Linked DNA regions of Homo sapiens: region 1 is linked to region 2. Evidence: promoter capture Hi-C in human tissues and cell types (Jung and others, 2019). All regions are on one chromosome and are shown on one strand. The core of a region is centred on a gene start or on the middle of the fragment in contact, and the rest is flanking DNA. Distances in the headings are between cores, read along the strand shown.

The links. Contacts are between HindIII fragments. The study calls those that stand out against the background at their distance.
Region 1: a fragment that was not itself captured here is called in contact with the fragment with the promoter of PANK1 in region 2 in 1 of the 25 tissues and cell types used here (dorsolateral prefrontal cortex).

What each region holds. Positions count from the first base shown.
Region 1 is chr10:89,282,083-89,286,447 of GRCh38, forward strand. It overlaps LOC124902477 (a long non-coding RNA gene), which reads left to right and starts at 1,592. Exons shown (of 3, transcript XR_007062233.1): 1 at 1,592-1,809; 2 at 3,000-3,182. It also overlaps a transcript of LIPA not described here. The HindIII fragment of the contact is 7,397 bases long and covers 1-4,365 here.
Region 2 is chr10:89,642,189-89,646,588 of GRCh38, forward strand. It overlaps PANK1 (pantothenate kinase 1), which reads right to left and starts at 3,054. Exons shown (of 7, transcript NM_148977.3): 1 at 2,412-3,054. The coding sequence starts at 2,703. PANK1-AS1 (PANK1 antisense RNA 1) reads left to right here and starts at 1,926. Exons shown (of 5, transcript NR_184344.1): 1 at 1,926-2,011. RefSeq lists silencers at 1,828-1,877, 2,578-3,057. The HindIII fragment of the contact is 3,851 bases long and covers 1,922-4,400 here.

The sequences.
Region 1 (4,365 bases), core at 922-3,421, 360 kb before region 2:
GAACTACTGTGACTTTCCCAGAACCTCAGACCTAGACTGGTTTGCACCTTGAACTTGATTCCAGGATATGGATTCATGAAATGTTAGTCATCATATTTCATACTGAGAAAGGTCCTGGAAGGATCATCCAGACCAACGATTTTTATTTCTCTGAGCATAAAACTGAGACCTGTTTTATGATTTATCTAATATCACAAACAGTTGGTGACAGAAGTAGGAAATACAGCTGAGGCCAAAACTCATTCTGAACAGCAAATGAAAACAGATACTTTTGGCCGGGCATGGTGGCTCATGCGTGTAATCTCAGCACTTTGGGAGGCTGAGGCAGGCAGATTACCTGAGATTGAGAGTTTGAGACCAGCCTGACCAACATGGAGAAACCCCGTCTCTGCTAAAAATACAAAAAAATTAGCCGGGCATGGTGGTGCATGCCTATAATCCCAGCTACTCAGGAGGCTGAGGCAGGAGAATCGCTTGAACCCAGGAGGCAGAGGTTGCGGTGAGCCGAGATCGTGCCATTGCACTCCAGCCTGGGTAACAAGAGCGAAACTCCGTCTCAAAAAAATAAAAAAAAAAGAAAGAAAGAAAACAGATACTTTCATCGAATCCATTATGTGCCAGGCACTATTCTAAGAGCTTCACAACAAGCCTATGAAATAGGTGCTACCACTCTTTACAGATGAAGAACGGATGCAAGTTCACACAAGCAGTGCATTTCAGAGTTGAAATCAGAAACTATATAGTTTAGATCCAGAGACTTGCTGCACTTAAGGAACACACTGAACAAGGGAAGTTCTAGAATTGGGCAGACCTGGACTTCTGTCCTTGGGCATATCACTTAAGTTCTCTGAATCTTCTCTTACTCATCTGTTAAATGGCCATATTTCACATGAGTGTAAAATGGAGTAAATTAGGTAAGTCCTATAAAGCCCTGAGCAAAAATTCTCAATCAATATTAGTGTTGAATTAAGTTTCACTTAAAGCTGCCTCCTTGCATATTTTAAGTTCACCCTGACAGTTTTTCTGTACATAGTAAACTATAACCTAACTGGATGTGTAAACAGACTGTAACCTACTCCTGTGCCACTCACAGTTTTGGCCAATCAAAGGTGGCCAACCATTCAAACCATGTTAAAATAAGGCAAATGCTGGGCTGTAACCAACACTTCCATTTCTGTACCTCACTTCTGTTTTTTATAGGTCATTTTCCTTTTTCTGTCCATAAATCTTCTACCAGGCAGCTGCACCGGAGTCTCTCTGAGGCCACTCTGGCTCGGAAGTCTGCCTGATTGGTGAATAATTCTTTGCTCAATTAAACTCTACTAAATTTAATTTGTCTAAGGTTTTTCTTTTAACATTAGCTACTGATGTCACTATTAATATTAGCTAGTGATGACAACAGTTCTCCGGAATCCACCCTAGTCCTGTGGTCATTTTTAGATTTCTGGTTCTCTGACCACTACATTGCTAATCCTCCTTCTAGTAAATTTTCATCTACCTTGAACTTCCTTACACACTATTCCCCCTAAACGTTGTTCCAGTTGAGTGCCCAGCCAGAAAGATTAAAGCTCTCCCTGCTGAAATCTCCTTTCCCTCCAGCAGGAAACCAGTGTAGTTATGTTGTTTGTACTTGCCAGGATACACTTCCATTTCATATTTGCAAGTACACATAAAGGTATCCTTCATCAGCAGCACAGTGCTTCCTTTCCTCTGAATCTGCCATCAGCTCAGGCAGATTTCTAAGCAGCAAATCAGCCTTTGCCAGAACACTGCAGGACACCAGTGCAGCGCCCAGCCTGCGACCATGAGGTAAAGGATTTTTTCTTGCATTTATCCCTTGAAATTATGTTGTGTGCCTTTGAAAACCTCAAGGTAGATTTTCTTAGGTGCTGGATTTGGGCATCTGCTTAAATATTTAACATATCTTAGAGAATACTTGTTTCTTGTTAATTCAGGCATTTTAAAATCTGTGGCGCTTCCAGACTCATATCAACATTCCCTGATGGAAGCCTTTAGCAATCCTAACCAGGAAGTGGCCAGAGCCTGGAGCCAGAGACGAACGTCCCTCATAGGAGGGGTTGCTGGAGGAGGAGGGGCAAATCTATTTCATTCTGTCCTTGCAGGCACATTTTCATCAGTTAATGATGCAAACCAGGCTGAAACGTTCTTAACAAGCATGTGTGTTTCTGTTTTTCATTTGAAAGTCAGGAGCATGAGGCTATATTCATCATAGAGGCAGGGTTTCTCTGTGTCAGAGCTCAGCATTGGCAGCTCTAGCAAAGGACAGGCTGCATTTAGCTGGTTCTTTTCTAAGGAGCCACAGTCAGGCACTAAACCAGCATCTACACCTCTGAGGCCCCTAAAAGCCTCCAGTGAAGCTGGGCTTGATCAGACCTCAAAAAGATCTCCCTTTGCATTTTGCTCTTAGTTCTCAGTGATCTTTAAAAAATAATAATAATAAAAAGATTAGAATCATGAAAGATTTTTCTCAGGATATGAATACTATAGGCACACTAAAGAAACTTTGGAAAAATGCCAGCAAGTATAAGCGAAAAAAAATCATACTGCCCCTTATATCACCCACTGAAATTAAAATATTTAAACATTATGCTTCTGTGTACACCTGTATACGCTATATGTCAGGCCTCTGAGCCCAAGCTAAGCCATCATATACCCTGTGACCTGCACGTATAAATCCGGATGACCTGAAGTAACTGAAGAATCACAAAAGAAGTGAAAATGGCCTGTCCCTGCCTTAACTGATGACATTACCTTGTGAAATTCCTTCTCCCAGCTCTTCCTGGCTCAAAAGCTCCCCCACTGAGCACCTTGTGCCCCCCACCCCTGCCAGCCAGAGAACATCCGCCTTTGACTGTAATTTTCCACTATCTACCCAAATCTTATAAAAACAGCCCATCCCATCTCCCTTCACTGACTCTCTTTTTGGACTCAGCTCGCCTGCACCCAGGTGATTAAAAAGCTTTATTGCTCACACAAAGCCTGTTTGGTGGTCTCTTCACATGGACGCGAGTGACATTTGGTGCCGTGACTCGGATCGGGGAACCTCCCTTGGGAGATCAATCCCCTGTCCTCCTGCTCTTTGTTCCAAGAGAAAGATCCACCTACGACCTCTGCTCCTCAGACCAACCAGCCCAAGGAACATCTCACCAATTTTAAATCGGGTAAGTGGCCTGTCTTTACTCTCTTCTCCAATCTCTCTCACTATCCCTCAACCTCTTTCTCCTTTCAATCTCGGCACCACACTTCAATCTTTCCCTTCTCTTAATTTCAATTCCTTTCCTTTTTTGGTAGAGATACGGGAGATGTGTTTTATCTGTGGACTCAAAACTCCAGTGCTGGTCACAGATTCGGGAAGACAGTCTTCCCTTGGTGTTTAATCACTGCAGAGATGCCTGCCTGATTATTCACCCACATTTCATTGGTGTCTGATCACCGTGGGGATGCCTGCCTTGGTCATTCACCCACATTCCCTTAGTGGCAAGGCAATTGTGGGGACACCTGCTTTGGCTGCTCACCCACATTTGCAGCCCAGGGCTGCTCACCCAACCCCTTCTCTCCATGTCTCTACCCTCTCTTTTCTCTCCACTTTCCTGGGGGGCAAGGACCCCCTACCCCTTCTCCACTTTCCTGGGGGGCAAGCACCCCCCACTCCTTCTCTCTGTGTCTCTACCCTCTCTTTTCTCTCCACTTCCCTGGGGGACAAACACCCCACCCCTTCCCCATGTTCCTGGGGTGCAAGAACCCCCCACCCCTTCTCTCTGTGTCTCTACCCTCTCTTTTCTCTGGACTTGCCTCCTTCACTATAGGCAAACTTCCACCCTCCATTCCTCCTTCTTCTCCCTTAGCCTGTGTTCTCAAGAACTTAAAACCTCTTCAACTCACACCCGACTTAAAACCCAAATGCCTTATTTTCTTCTGCAATGCCACTTAACCCCAATACAAACTCGACAGTGGTTCCAAAGAGCCATAAAATGGCACTTTTGATTTCTCCATCCTACAACACCTAGATAATTTTTGTCGAAAAATGGGCAAATGGTCTGAGGTGCCTGACGTCCAGGCATTCTTTTACACATCGGTCCCTCGTCCCTCCCTAATCTCTGTTCCCAATGCAACTCATCCCAAATCTTCCTTCTTTCCCTCCTGCCTGTCCCCTCAGTTCCAACCCCAAGTGTCACTAAGTCTTTCCAATCTTCCTTTTCTACGGACCCATCTGACCTCTCCCCTCCTCCCCAGGCTGCTCCTAGCCAGGCCGAGCCAGTTCCAATTCTCCCTTAGCCTCCGCTCCCCCACCCTATAATCCTTCTATCACCTCCCCTCCTCACACCCAGTCCAGCTTCCAGTTTC
Region 2 (4,400 bases), core at 1,804-4,303:
GCACTGAGAGGTCAGATTAAAATTTGTTAAATAATCTAAAAATACTGATCTGTTTTATTCCATCCATCATTTTCAAACATGAAGTATTTTAATGTGTATTGTCCTTTACCTACAATACTACAAAATAGAAACACACCTATCCACACATGCATTCCAGGTGCATTTACAAGTGTTAACACTGGCTATCTTAACACACATCTTGTTGGGACAGAGGCCAAACTGTTGTAACTGACCAGGAGGAAATAATTATGTGTCTAGCTTGATGCTTCGCCACCAGCACACACTAAAGTTTGCGTTTAAAGCACACAACTACTCTTTGCAAAAATCGTTCCTGTAAAATCTGTCAGTCATCAGCAAATAGGAATAAGCTTAGAGTATGTAAATACTCACAGAGTACCTAAATATTCCTCTTAGAGTACCTAATTCCTCTTAGAGTAACTAAATATCAACTGATTGGACAATATTCTTTTTATAAAGATATGTGAATGTCAATAGGCAAGGCACAAAGATATTAAGTTAAGCCATTTTTAACTAAGAAATTTTGGTAGTGAAAAGGCCAGATGTGACTCCTAGGAACATGTAAAATTTATTTCAGACATGATTGTTCAAATCTGAGAGAAGAAAACATGGTAAATAATGTAAATCCAATTTTGACGAACCGTTTTTTAAAAATTATAAGTAACAATCGTGGTCATGAAACTTAAAACAACTAGGATTTTTATTCTGTAAGAAACATAAACCACTTTAATTTCTGATACAAAGCACACAGGCAGATAGTTACATTTTCTTGTATTTTAAAATAATTTCTGTGGGTTTGCAAGCACAAGTTAAGGCTCAGGTTAGTTTTTCTCTGTCTTCAAGATATTCCTAGAGGGTGTATTTTCAATTCCTCAGAAGTTATTTCAAGAGGTGTTATATCCTCAATTAAACATAGAAGATTAAGCTAGAAGCTCCCTTTCATTATATTTTAGCTATTTTCATTGCAAACTCTAGTACAATCTGTCAATGTAGATAAGAGAAATAACTGAAGTATAGCTTCAAAATAAGTGAAACAGGTTTATAAATCACAGGTAATCAATATTAAGTCCTGACTTTTAAAATATTAATACTAATGAAAGTCATTTTCTAACAAGTATCAAAAACAAAAGCAAATAAAAATTCAGGTGCTAGATTACAACCTTACACCTTACAACTGTAGCCAAATCTGCTGTTTGGCTTTAAAGTTCCACACAAAATCTTAACCTACAAATTTAACATTTCAAACCCACAAAATACAAGTACCAGAGTCACCCACAGTCATGTCAAAGGGCTTTCCAAGGTCTTAGAAACCTTAATCCAATACAGAAAAGCTAAGAGTCAAAAAGACATAGAAACAGGGAAAAGTGAAGGTGTTATTTGCCAAACATTAAACTTTCACAGAAATCCAAAACCTACTTAACAATTTCCCTATATCGAACAGCATAACCTCTATGCAAATGCAGTCATTTATTAGCATTTACTGTACTTACTTTGCTTTTTGCCATTTATAAGCTTCATTAAAGACACCCACAAAGAAGTAACCAGTTGAATGAGCTTCAGTCAAGAAAAACCAGCTGTAAACTCGACCTACAAATTTACATCCCACAGCGTCCTGTGGGGAAGGTACACTTTACAAACTACCATTATATATACAAGCTTTAGATTGTGAAATAATGCACTTCGGCTTTCTCCGGTGTACATTACAATTACAAACCCTCAACTCAACCTCCCCCTTCGTTGAAAAAAAAAATCCACCTCCAATCCTCATTGGTCCACATAGTTCCGGCCCACATGGTATCAGTGGGTGTGTCCCTCCCAAAAAACCCTCTCATTGGCCGTGAAGAAACAGCTTCTAATAGGCTGTGATTTTGGGGGGTAGTTAAACTCCACGCCTCCAGACTTGCGCTCTCCAATAGACCCGAGACGCTGCTGGCTACTCTGTGATTCAAAGGGCAGGCAACCCCAGTAGGACGCGCTCAGAGAAGCGAGAGGGGTGAGAAAGGAGAGAGCACCCTCGGTGTGCCGCCCACTTTATCCTCACTCCTGGACCCCAGCAAATGTTCACACACCTGCGTTTTCCCAGCCACCAATTAGAAGGGCGGACAGAGCGTTCGCTTATTATATATCCTTGACCTAGGGACCCGCTCAAGCTTCGTGTCCAATCCTCGTTCTACTGATAGAAGCGAGCAAAGGGCAGGCTCAGGCAAAGACCTGTAGTGCTTGATGTCCCCTAGGAAAAGAATCAGTCCCGGGAACCTACTCTGTGCAGTCCCTCGACCGCAGACGCGGGGGCGCACGGGGCGTGCTGCGGCGCCTGCCTCAGCCGCTCCCAGTCCCGGGCCCCGCACGCTGCGTCTGCCTTGCGCCCGCGCTCCCCTCCCAGCGGGACTTACGCGGCCTGTTCTTTCTCCCCGAGTCCATCCTCCTCCGCAGCCGGCATTTCTTGGCCGGGGAGTCATGCTGAGGGAGCAGTGGCTGCGGCTGCAGCTCCGGCAGGAGCGGGAGGCGCTGGGGCGCCGCGTCGCTGCCGCCCACTGGACCCCGGCTGCAGACGTGCGGCGGCTGGACTGGCGGCGGATGGAAGCCGTTGTGCAGCAGCCCGTTCACAGCGGCGGCGCTGGTGCCCACGGGGGCCCCTGGAGAGTGCGGGACCGAGCGCTCCTGCTGCCCGCTGCGGTCGCCCATGCCGGGGGCTGGCGGGGCTGTGCGCGGGCCCCGGCTCAGGCGGCCTCGCTGGAGGTCATTCTCCGGCGTCTTTATTTCCCCGGATCCTCCCTGCGGCTTCCGATTCAGCAGCCGCAGAGCCGGCGCCTGGGGATGGCGAACCCGGCGCTCCTCCCCTCCTCCTGCCGACTCCCCCACCTCCTCTGCGCCCTGCCCCCCGCGCGCCGGCCCCACGGCGCCGGCCTGGAGCACGCCAGCCCCGGGCGCGGAATCGGGGATCCCCGCGCACCCCCAGCCGGGGCTCCCGCCGCCCGCCTTCCCCTGATCCCCAGGCCGCGCGACTTCAAACGCGGCTTCCTCGCCTCCCAGACTGGTCCCCGCCACTGAGCATGCCCAGTCCTGCCCGCCACCGCCACCGACGAGTTTCAACATGGGGAATCAAGTTCTCTGGGCTTGCAGAGAGGAGATGGGCGGGTTGGGCTTTGTATGGCGATGTGAAAACCAGATGGGTCTGGGAGAGACAGCGAAAGGAGCGAACCGTTTCAGGAGGAATACGGGAGGAAGACAATTATTTGCAGAGGTGTCAGGTTTGCTAATCCTGTCCCCAGTGAGCAAGATACCTTTGCAAGGTCATTCACGTTACCCTCCCCGCTTTGTGAGTGTGTGCTTACGCGCGCGCGCGTGTGTGCCTGTGCGTTTGGTTAAGTGACCAAACTACTTAGAGGCCTGAGGGGAGGGAGAACAATTATTTATAGAAAAGTTGGCAGACTTGGGGAGGGAGGGGAGTGAAATTTCTTTGCTGGCACGCACACACACTCAAACACCATGTGGTCTCATGGAGTTGTCTTTTGCAGGGAGGAAACCTAGGAATACAGTGTAAGGACAGTGAAGGACAAAACTGTAGGCAGGATTAATCGGTGCTGAAAGAGATCAAGTAAACAGGAGCAATTCCATGCTATAAAAAGCACTTTCCTCACCCAGAAAGGACTTCAAAAGACAATGTCATGTTATTTATAGAGTAAGGAGTTGCCTCTTCTAAGAAGGGAAGGCGGCATCACGTGGTGACCAGCACTACGAGCTTTGGAGTTAGCACTGGGTTCAAATTCCAACTCAGCCACTGAGCAAACCCAGATAACGTTAATGCTCAAGGTAACACTTCTAGCAATAGGAAACGGGACTGTCCATGCTCACTATGCAGGACTAATTTGGGTGGTGAATACCTTCCCAAAGTTATGCAATCTCTTGAGGCCTCACTTTCCTATCCATAATGGGGCTGTTGTGAGAAAATCTACTAAAAGTACCTGGTACAATCCTGGCACACAGTAAATGCTCAGAAAGCTAGTTTTCCTTATTACGCTATTATGATTAGCAGTTCACCCTTTGTTTCGACAGGGGAACAAACCATGCTTACAGCCGTATTTATTGTGTGATTTATTTTGTGATATTCTCCGTGATTTGCAATTAATCTACAGAGGAGTCAGAGTCTGGCAGGTGCTGGCTGGCTACTGGGTTGCTGGGCCCCTGGGCTTCAGTGCATTCAGCAGCATCTAGGGCTTGCATCTGGCAATTCCTTCCAGCAGAGCCTTACCTAGAATCAGAGCTTGAGAACCATGGGGGCCACTGGAGCACTCTGGTCTATCCACTCTTGCATACTTTTTTCGTATCAGGAAACTGAGCTGCAGACAGATGGCTGAGGTTATTAAGAGCAAAGGTGGGAC